Linked DNA regions of Homo sapiens: region 1 is linked to region 2. Evidence: promoter capture Hi-C in human tissues and cell types (Jung and others, 2019). All regions are on one chromosome and are shown on one strand. The core of a region is centred on a gene start or on the middle of the fragment in contact, and the rest is flanking DNA. Distances in the headings are between cores, read along the strand shown. Region 1 overlaps SYT11 (synaptotagmin 11). Region 2 holds the start of EFNA4 (ephrin A4).

Region 1 (4,827 bases), core at 949-3,448, 800 kb before region 2:
TACATGAGAGGCAGGTATAATTTCATCTGCACTGGTCATAATATACATGTAATATTGTGTATAGCAGTGACAATAATAAAATTGCTATTTTTTGTGTAAATTTATATGTCCCTGCCAGGCATTGTGGTAGAGCTTACTTTTTTTATTTCTTTTGAGACAGCGTCTCATTTTATTGCCTAGGCTGGAGTGCAGTGGCACAAGCTTGGCCCACTGCAACCTCCACCACCTGGGCTCAAGTGATCCTCCTGCCTCAGCCTCCTGAGTAGCTGGGACTACAGGCACATGCCATCACACCTGGCTAATTTTCGTATTTTTTGCAGAGATGGAATTTCACCATGTCACTCAGGCTGGAGTGCAGTGGCATGCATGATCGCAGCTTACTGAAGCTTTGACCTCCCCAGTTCAAATGATCTTCTTGCCTCAGCCTCCTGAGGAACTAGGACTACAGGCATGTGCCATCATGCCTGGTTAATTTTTTTTTTTTTTGAGATGGAGTCTTGCTTTGCCCAGACTTGAGTGCAATGGCGCGATCTCGGCTCACTGCAACCTCTGCCTCCCTGGTTCAAGTGATTCTCCTGCCTCAGCTTCCTGAGTAGCTGGGATTACCAGCACATGCCACTACACCTGGCCAGTTTTTGTATTTTTAGTAGAGACGGGGTTTCACCATATTGGCCACGCTGGTCTCGAACTCCTGACCTCAAGTGATCTGCCAGCCTTGGCCCCCCAAAGTGCTAGGATTACAGGCATGAGCCACCATGCCCAGCTAATTTTTAAATTTTTTTTAGAGATGAGTCTTCACTATATTGCCCAGGTGGTCTTGAACTCCTGGGCTCAAGCAATTCTGCTTTAGTCTCCACCAAATTGCTGGGATTACAGGTGCAAGCCACCATGCCTAACCAAGGAAGAGTTACATTTTATTTAAAATATATATTTATTGTTATTATTTTTTTAGAGACGTGGTCTCACTCTGTGGCCCAGGCTGGAGTGCAGTGGTGCAATCACAGCTCACTGCAGCCTTGAACTCCTGGGCTCAAGCAATCTTACTACCCTAGACTCCTGAATAGCTGGGACTACAGGACCATGCCACTATGCCTGGCTAATTAAAAAAAATTTTTTTTAGAGACAAGGTGCTATGTTGCCCAGTCTGGTTTTGAATTCCTGGCCTCAAGATCCTCTTGCCTCAGTCTCTTGAGTCGCTGGAATTATAAGCACGACCCACTGTACCCGGGTACATTTTAAAATAATATAGATAAGGAGCAAAACATTATTAACAAAATAAATCAAGGTGACCATGTCTATATCCATACCGAATAATAATAGTGTTTAGTCTCAAAGTATTAAATGAAATAGCTTTTAGGGAAAGTTTTCACAAAATGGAGACAGCCTTGGTAGTAAGCTACTTGAAGGCAGGCAGGAACAATATCCTATGGATCTTTGAATCCCTCAAGAGTCTCTTGCTTCTAATAGGAGTTCAGTAAATATTTGGTTGAACAACTAATTGGATTCAGTTGCCATTAAGAATGGGCACAGCCTAAGGAAGTGGCTCTCCATTCATCAATCAGGTGCTTTCCTGCAAATTGTTTGCTACTCATTAGTGAAACTGAACACTGTCTCTATGAGAAGAGGAACACAGCAAACTACCAAGACAGGCATATTTTTTGGAATGATCATAAAGAGAGATCTGAAGGCTTAGATTAGGAGACACCTGGGCAATTCTTTTGGCTCTATCATAGATTTATTCCCTGCAGCAGTGCGGTGGAGGAGCGGGGGGCAACCCACTGCTGCTTACATATTTACAATGCATCAACTTTTATTGTTAGAAAATGGAGATAGGGTAGAAAAGAGAGAAGATGAAGAATTCTCATATTCCAGGAGGATAGAGAAGGAAAAGAAGAGAAACAGATGAACGCATCTTTGAATTATCTAGTTGTTCCCCCTGGCCTTGTTTCCTATTTTTGCTGTTCTTTCTTCATTTTAGTATTTGTTAACTCTTGCCTCTCTCCCTGAAACCAAGACAATGAGCTAGAATCATCAAAGATATTAAAACCTAGAGCTCTCTGTCTTGCTTTAGTCCAAAGCTTGGTGGGAAATGGAAGTTGAAACTAATGGCTGAAGTGAGTGTTTTAAAGTAGCTATAAATTGCAGTGACCTGTGCTTCTCGCTCCTTTTGTCCTTCATGGTCATGGATAATTGAGTGTTGGCTTGGTGTATCACCCAAGTGCTGTGGCATTTGAAATGAAGTACTCTATGAGATGTGAAAAAGTTGGAAGTGGTAGTTCTCTATGTAGGAGATCCTCTGTAATGGTTTAAAGACCTGCAAGACACATCTGGGCTATTGGCCAGCTCCTTCAGCTTCTGACCAGAACTGCTTTTATTGACACCCCCTTTCCTAAACATAGCTTTTCGCAGTCAAGTAGACAAATATAATACAATGGAATGAGAATAAATTTTGGCTTCAGCCAGACATTGGTTTAAATCCTAGCATTGGCCAGGTGCAGTGGCTCACACCTGTAATCCCAGGACTTTGGGAGGCCAAGGTAGGCAGATCACCTGAGGTCGGGAGTTCAAGACCAGCCTGACCAACATGGAGAAACCCCATCTCTACTAAAAATACAAAATTAGCTGGGTGTGGTGGCACTTGTCTGTAATCCCAGCTACTTGGGAGGCTGAGGCAGGATAATCGCTTGAACCCAGGAGGCAGAGGTTGTGGTGGGCCAAGATCACGCCATTGCACTCCAACCTGGGCAACAAGATCGAAACTCCGTCTCAAAAACAAAAACAAAAACAAACTAGTGCTACCTTTAGTCATTTGTTTGGCTTTAGCCAAGTTATTTTATTTCTGAGCTTTGGTTTCCTTGTCTGGCAAGTATATATAATAATACATACACTCGAGGGTATTTGTTAGGATTAAATAAAATGTAGTATGTAACAGGCTGATATAATTTATTTTCCCTTTCCCAATAATAGTCCCTCTAAGAGAAATCACTATATTATGTTCCACACCATCTCCTTTTTTCAAGGATTCTGGAACTGCAGTTAGAGAAAGGAATCTGTTGGAAGGGAATAAGAAGAAAAAGAACAGGAAGAAATCATGGATTGCTCATGTGATCATGAAAGGGACTTTTGTTTTGGAAACTTAGAACTCAAAGAATAAAGATGCGGAAGGTGAAGTGGAAGAAAAAATACCATCAAGATTTAGCCTTGTGGAATAAGTGAGAACAAGTAGTTAATGAGTGTGAAGATCAGTTATCTGAACACATCTGATTTGATTTCTTCTTCCTTATTCTGAGGGGATAGAGCACACTGGATTCTGCTCATTTCACTGTACCTCTTATTCAGGAATGAGAAAAGCCATTTCCTAGCTGGATTGTGTCTCCACCCTAAAAACTGGAGTCCCGATGCTCAAACCTACTGGATTGTCTGAGGGATAGAATCCCTGAAGGAATAAGAAGGTTCTTTGGCAGCAACTCTCACTGGCTTCCCCCATCTAAACTGAATCAAGGAGAAGCAGGGCAATTATATTTTATTTATTTGATCAGGAAAGCATAACACAGGAAGTTTGCTCCTTTAGCATATACTGCAGGAGTCCCCAAAGAGGAAAAAACTTCCTTCTCAAGCTTGTCTTTGCCACCTTCTTCCCTATTTTCCACTCCACTTTCTGCTCCAGAGAGTGTAAAACTAATCTTGGAGCCCACAGGGCTGGGTCGGGGACCAGCCGCTCTGAAATGACGTAATGCTTTCTGCGGTACACAAAGCGGCCTCCCCCGGGCTGGGCCTCTTTCGCCCCTCCCCCTCCGGCCTGGATCGCGCCCCCGCCAGCATCAACGCTGGTCAGTCCCCCTTTTTGAAAAGGCGGCCCAGGGAAACAGGGAACAAAGGCCCCGGAAGGAGAGCGTCGGCGCTGCCAGGAGGCCCAGAAATAGACATCACGTCATCCCCCAGCCCAGCAGCGCCAAGCGCCATTTGGTAGCATCGGAGGGACCCCACCATTACGATGCGGAATGGAGCTTGCAGGGCTCACGTTTCCTCCTAGCCCCAGCATCCAGCTGACCGGCTTAAGGAGTGGCTTCCTTTTTGCTCCCCACCCCGCACCCCTCTTTCCCCAGAGGCCGCCGCCTCCCCTGGCTGCCAGCCACACGGCCCACAGTCTCCAAGCTGCCATCTTGATGCCCCATCCCCCTTGTCACTTCCCTCCCCCGCAGCCCTTAGGAATGGGAGGGGGAGGAAGGGGCACCGCCCTGTGTGCCCCAAGGGGGAGGGCTTGGCCTACCCCACCTCTCCTCCCCCAGAAGGAGGGGTTCACATCCTCCGCACGCTTGCTGTTTCTCACCTCCAGCAGTGCTGACAGTGCACCATACAAGGTTTTAGCATCCTGGACTTCCCCACCCTCGGTGTGGCTCAGGCCCTGCCAGTCCCTGCAGCCCATAGCTCAAGTTCATGCACTGTCAACTGCCCACTACCCACTACCCACCACCACAGGCCCGATTTTAGTGGGGCTGGCATTTTGAAGGCTCTGGTCTGGGCTGCATTCTCTGCCCTGCCGCTGGGCCCCCTTGGCCTTGCAACCATTCTGACCACCTCAAGCTTAGTTTTCCCGAGTCTACTTACCAAAGCTAGGTCGGATATTGGTGATCTCAGCCATGTCGTAATCAGAGGCTGTTGCTATAACGTTTTTGCAATGGTGAGACAGCTCTGGGAACCCTCGGTCAGTACCGAGGCAGCAGCTGTAGAGCTCTAGGTCAGGGAAGGGGGAAGGTATCCAGCGGACGCCTCCTGCGACGGTCCGGCCCCTAGTTGTCAGCTGCGCTCAGCTCTTAAGATGCTCCG
Region 2 (4,652 bases), core at 2,153-4,652:
GTTCAGCCCATACCTCAACCCGATGTACATTAGAGACCCAGCCCCCTCCTCCTTCCAGGCCTCTCCTTCCCCCTCCCTACCCTTCTGGTACACAAGAGGTGTCCAGTGTGCCCTTGGCCACTCACAGATGTAGTAGTAAGTCTCTCCAGGTAAGAACTCAAAGCCGAGGGAGAAGGGTGTGAAGCGCTGAATCTTCTCTGAGAATTGAACATGGCCAAAGGGCAGGGAGCACACCCAGCGCTTGTAGGCCCGGGGGCCCTCTGCCTGGCAGGACTCATAGCCTGGCCAGTCCACCATGTACAAAGCAAACGTCTCGGGGCCCTCAGGGGGCCCTGGGCCTTCGTAGTGGGGGCAGACAATGTCTAGGTAATCGTTGAGGCCCAGCTCCACCACGGCGTCTCCTCGAAGCAACCTGCAGGCATAACGCAGGGGTGGGCTGAGGAGTGGAGGGCACCACGCCATGGCCATGGATGCCAGAGACACCCCTTCTCAGAGGCCCCTGCCAGCCTCTCCTCCACCCATGTGCGATGGAGCAGCTCAGGAAGGCCCGAGGTTCCCAGACTGACAACTCTTGAGAGACAAAGAGAGTGCAAGAAATGGATGAGATGATCGATTCACAGGTTCCGAGAGGCTAAGACCTGCAGTGCCCATAACCACACAGCTTAGATGTGAGAAGGAGGGTCACCACACCCTGTCCTACAGGCTGGAGCTGCCACACACCTCTCTAGCTCCAGTGCCCAACACTCAATGTGGTATAGCACCAGGCTTGATCAATGTCAGGTGGATGGATGCTGTGAAGAAGCTGGGCAGAGAGGCAGGAGGTACAGTTGCACACAGTGCAGCTGCAGACACAGAGGTGGAAACAGGGGTTGGGAAAGGTCTCCTCAAACAGATATAAAGTGAGGAACACTGTCCTTTAGACTGACTTCAACCCAAGGGTGAAAAGAATGTCACGGTAAAAAAAGAATGAGGGAGGCCAGGTGTGGTGGCTCACATCTGAATCCCAGCACTTTGGGAGGCCGAGGTGGGAGGATCGCTTGAGGCCAGGAGTTCAAGACCAGCCTGGGCAACATGGTGAGACTGTCTCTACCATAAATAAATAAATAGGCTGGGCGCGGTGGCTCACGCTTGTAATCCCAGCACTTTGGGAGGCTGAGGCGGGCGGATCATGAGGTCAGGAGATCAAGACCATCCTGGCTAACACGGTGAAACCCCGTCTCTACTAAGAATATAAAAAGAAAACTAGCCGGGCGTGGTGGCGGGCACCTGTAGTCCCAGCTACTTGGGAGGTTGAGGCAGGAGAATGGCGTGAACCCGGGAGGCGGAGCTTGCAGTGAGCCGAGATTGCGCCACTGCACTCCAGCCTGGGAGACAGAGCGAGACTCCATCTCAAAAAATAAATAAATAAATAAATAAATAAATAAATAAATAAATAAATAAAGGCCATGAGTGGTGGTGCACTCCTGTAGTCCCAGCTACTTGGGAGGCTGAGGCGGGAGGATCCTTAGAGTCCGCAAGTTCCTGTAGTGAGCTATTATGCCACCGCACTACAGCCTGGGTGACAGAGCAAGACCCTGTCTCTAAATTCTAAAAATTAAAAAAAAAAAAAAAAAAAGAATGAGGGAGTGGGTGCTAGGTGCCTCCCTTTTTTGGCCAGGAGGAGCAAGTGCCAGGCATGGGGGGAGTCCACATACTACCCAGTCTTCAGTCTTCTCAGGACTCCCTTCCCCACCTCTTGGGAGCTGCCTGGGGAAGCCAGCACAGGTGGGAAGGGCTGGAAGGGGCTGCTCCCCACAGTACTGAATGCTGCATGAACCACCCCCCATACCACAAACACAGCGAAGCATGACTTAGGAAAAGCCTCCAGTGGGTGGTCCAAGGACGACCTGTATCAGTTCTGATTAGAAATGAAGATTCCTGGGCTCAGCCAGCCCAGACTTACTAGAACGCAAGCTGAGCAAGGACAGGGCCTTGGTAAGTTTTGTTCTACTGCATCCCCCGTGCCTGGAAAAGTGCCCAGCACAGGACAGTGTTCAATAAATATTTGTGGATTGAATGAATGAGCCAGAAACCTTAAGATTGGGGGGTGAGAAACCTGAATTTTTAACAGGTCCTCCAAGTGATTCAGAAGCTTTGGTCTGTGACAGAGATAGAGAATTCAGAGTCCAAGGACAACAAAAGCTCTTATCACTTGTTATTGGTATTGTAATGACCTGTCTTTATGCAGGCTCTCCTGCCTGCGCCTGTTCTCCAGAGAGTCTGTGGAATCCCAGAGGGCAGGGTCTTGATCTTCTCATCTATATAGTTAATCCCCTGCAACCTAGCACAGGGCCGGGCACACACAGTATGTGTTTAATAAATAAATGTTAGTGAGTGAAGAAATGAATAGTCACAGATTGTCTCAAGTAGAAAATCAGAAAGAAAAACAGATAGGAAATAGGAGAGGCAGGGAGACTTGGGGAGGGGGATGGAAACAGTAAAATATACTAAGGTTCAAAGGCAGGCAGCTCAGGAGAGAGAAAGAAATAATAGTTTATATCTGTACAGCCTGAGCCTCTTTCACATACATGACCTCACTTACCCTGCCAGACTTCCCAGGGTACTAGGTATTATTAGCCCATTATACAGGTGAGATAAATGAGGTTAGGAAGGTCACGAGACTTGCCCAGAGGTGATTCGGCTAGAAGGGCAGGGCTGACACTGGAAAGAAACAGAAGGACCAATAAAGACAGAGATGAAAGCAGAGATAGCAAATGAGATCAGGAGACAGAGTGAGAGCCAGAGGTGAGACCCAGCGGGCAGGAGAGTAACCCACGCTCTTTCATAAGAGTAAAGCCCCCTCCCTCGCTCTCAAGTTCGTCAGCCACAGCTCCAGCCTGCGGGAGGCTGGGGATCGCCAGGAGAGCAGCGAGGGGGGCGGAGCCCGGAGTGCGGGCAAAGGCCCCCCCAGCTCCATGCTCCAAGACCCCCTAGACAACCCTTGGGGCTGGGGTCTTCTGCCTGCCCCCCAACACATGCGGGCTGTGGGGAGACCCAGGGCGCGCCTCGCCCCTCGCCCCTCCCCCCTCCCCCGCCGGCTCAAACAAAGGAGCCCCGGCGCGCGGCCAGGCTCAGGCGGCGCCGCGCAAAGAGCGGGTGGCGGGCGCGCGCAAAGCCCGGGAGCGCGCAGACTTGGCTGTGCGCTCGCCCGGTTCGGCCCGGCTACCTGGGGTTACTGGAGTTCCAGTAGACTACGTGGCGGAGGCTGGAGCCCCCGCGCAGAGGGGAGCCGAGGAACGCGGCCCAGAGGACAGTCCGCAGCAGGGGCAGCAGCCGCATCGCCCCCGAGGTCCGGTTTGGTCTGGCCTGGCAGGTCCCGGCCCGCTTCACAGTCGAGGAGAGAAAGGTACAAAGTGAAGAGGGAAGTTGCGGAAAGGGGAGTGGGGTACGGAGATTCACTGACCCCGCCCCTGAATAACTTTCCGCCAATGGGAGCGCGTCTCCTCCTCTCCACCCAGCGCCAACTCCAGTTAACCCTCTGTGCACCGCAGCGCGCGCCAGGTTCGCCAAAGCTTCCACTGAGGCTGCACCGCACTGCGAGGGGGCGGGAAGGAAGGACGTATTCCAACAGCAGTATTTTTAGGGAGGTCATCTCTTTCGTGTCTGCTTTAGTGCAGGGTAGACTGCCTTATTAGAAGTTTGGAAGATTTTAAATAAGGGTACATAACCTTTGCCCAGATAGGGGAAAGTGAGGCGCGGGCGAGGATCCATGAAGCCTGTCCAACCACCTTCATGCACTGCCCCGTTTTCTTTGCACATCTAGGGACAGTGCAAGCGGAAGGGACAACACAGCTCTGGGACCACCTTCCCTAAAGAGCCTTAGGTGGCGCGCTAGATGCTCACTTTAGGATTGGCGTCTGTCCCTTGCCGCTCCACACCTTCGTTCCGGGCTGGGGGCCCACGCGGCCCCAGTCCCTAAGACGAAGTAATGAGGTGGTTGCGGCCTGTACAAAGCACCTTTGTTCCCGATCCCTCAGGTGGCGGCGGCGGAGGGGGAGGAGGCAGGTGCGCGGCCTTGGGATCGTGGGAGCAGCCGCCGCCCCGCTCCGCCCTGGCTCCTGGGCTCTGGGAGCATCAGCCAGATCCACTTTTCCCAGCCAATGGTCAGAGTGGGGACGGCAGGTCCAACAGCTTGACAGATTGCGCCGAAAGCCACCCCAGTCTGGGCAGAGGGAAGCTGCGAGCATCCCGGGGACACACGCCGACCCTTTCTGGTACTCCCGCCCCACACAGCCCGCCCTCGTCTGAGGCGGCAGCGTCTTCTGGCGGCCAAACCTGGAACCGCAGCAGGAGCGACCCGGGTTCTAGAAGCAGACAAACTCTGGGGAACGCTCCCAAGATGTCACGTTTATTGCAACTGAGCAGAGACAGGCTGTGCGGACCTTCCTCAATCCCGTCCAACCCCCAGCCCCTCCCCAAGCCCCCGCTGCAACTACGCCGGCAGGTCCGCAGAGTGTTGCTTGACAGCGCGTGGCGGTGCCCGGAGTCTTAAGACACCGCCAGTCTCTGGCGCCTTCAGTCATGGTAGGGGACTCCAGAGGGCACGCCCGCCTCTTGAAGCCCTAAGTCCGGCTTGGAGGCAGCGGAACCTCCGGAGAGGTCAGAGGTAGAGC

Evidence for each region. The method cuts DNA at HindIII sites, captures the fragments that hold promoters and counts their contacts. A contact is called where the count stands out against the background at its distance.
Region 1: a fragment that was not itself captured here is called in contact with the fragment with the promoter of EFNA4 in region 2 in 2 of the 25 tissues and cell types used here (bladder and heart right ventricle).

What each region holds. Positions count from the first base shown.
Region 1 is chr1:155,859,577-155,864,403 of GRCh38, reverse strand. SYT11 (synaptotagmin 11) reads right to left here. Exons shown (of 4, transcript NM_152280.5): 1 at 4,609-4,827. The coding sequence starts at 4,642. Among named protein-coding and RNA genes, the nearest start is that of SYT11, 2.4 kb to the right of the region's middle. RefSeq lists an enhancer at 4,597-4,696. The HindIII fragment of the contact is 3,807 bases long and covers 295-4,101 here.
Region 2 is chr1:155,062,490-155,067,141 of GRCh38, reverse strand. It overlaps EFNA4 (ephrin A4), which reads right to left and starts at 3,402. Exons shown (of 4, transcript NM_005227.3): 1 at 3,206-3,402; 2 at 126-412. The coding sequence starts at 3,318. It overlaps ADAM15 (ADAM metallopeptidase domain 15), which reads right to left. Exons shown (of 23, transcript NM_207197.3): 23 at 4,367-4,652. The coding sequence ends at 4,640. It overlaps EFNA4-EFNA3 (EFNA4-EFNA3 readthrough), which reads right to left and starts at 3,402. Exons shown (of 5, transcript NM_001407761.1): 1 at 3,206-3,402. The coding sequence starts at 3,318. DCST1-AS1 (DCST1 antisense RNA 1) reads left to right here and starts at 3,151. Exons shown (of 4, transcript NR_040773.1): 1 at 3,151-3,385. It also overlaps ADAM15-EFNA4. RefSeq lists an enhancer at 1,950-2,451 and silencers at 2,942-3,091, 3,382-3,531, 3,912-4,001. The HindIII fragment of the contact is 5,150 bases long and covers 864-4,652 here.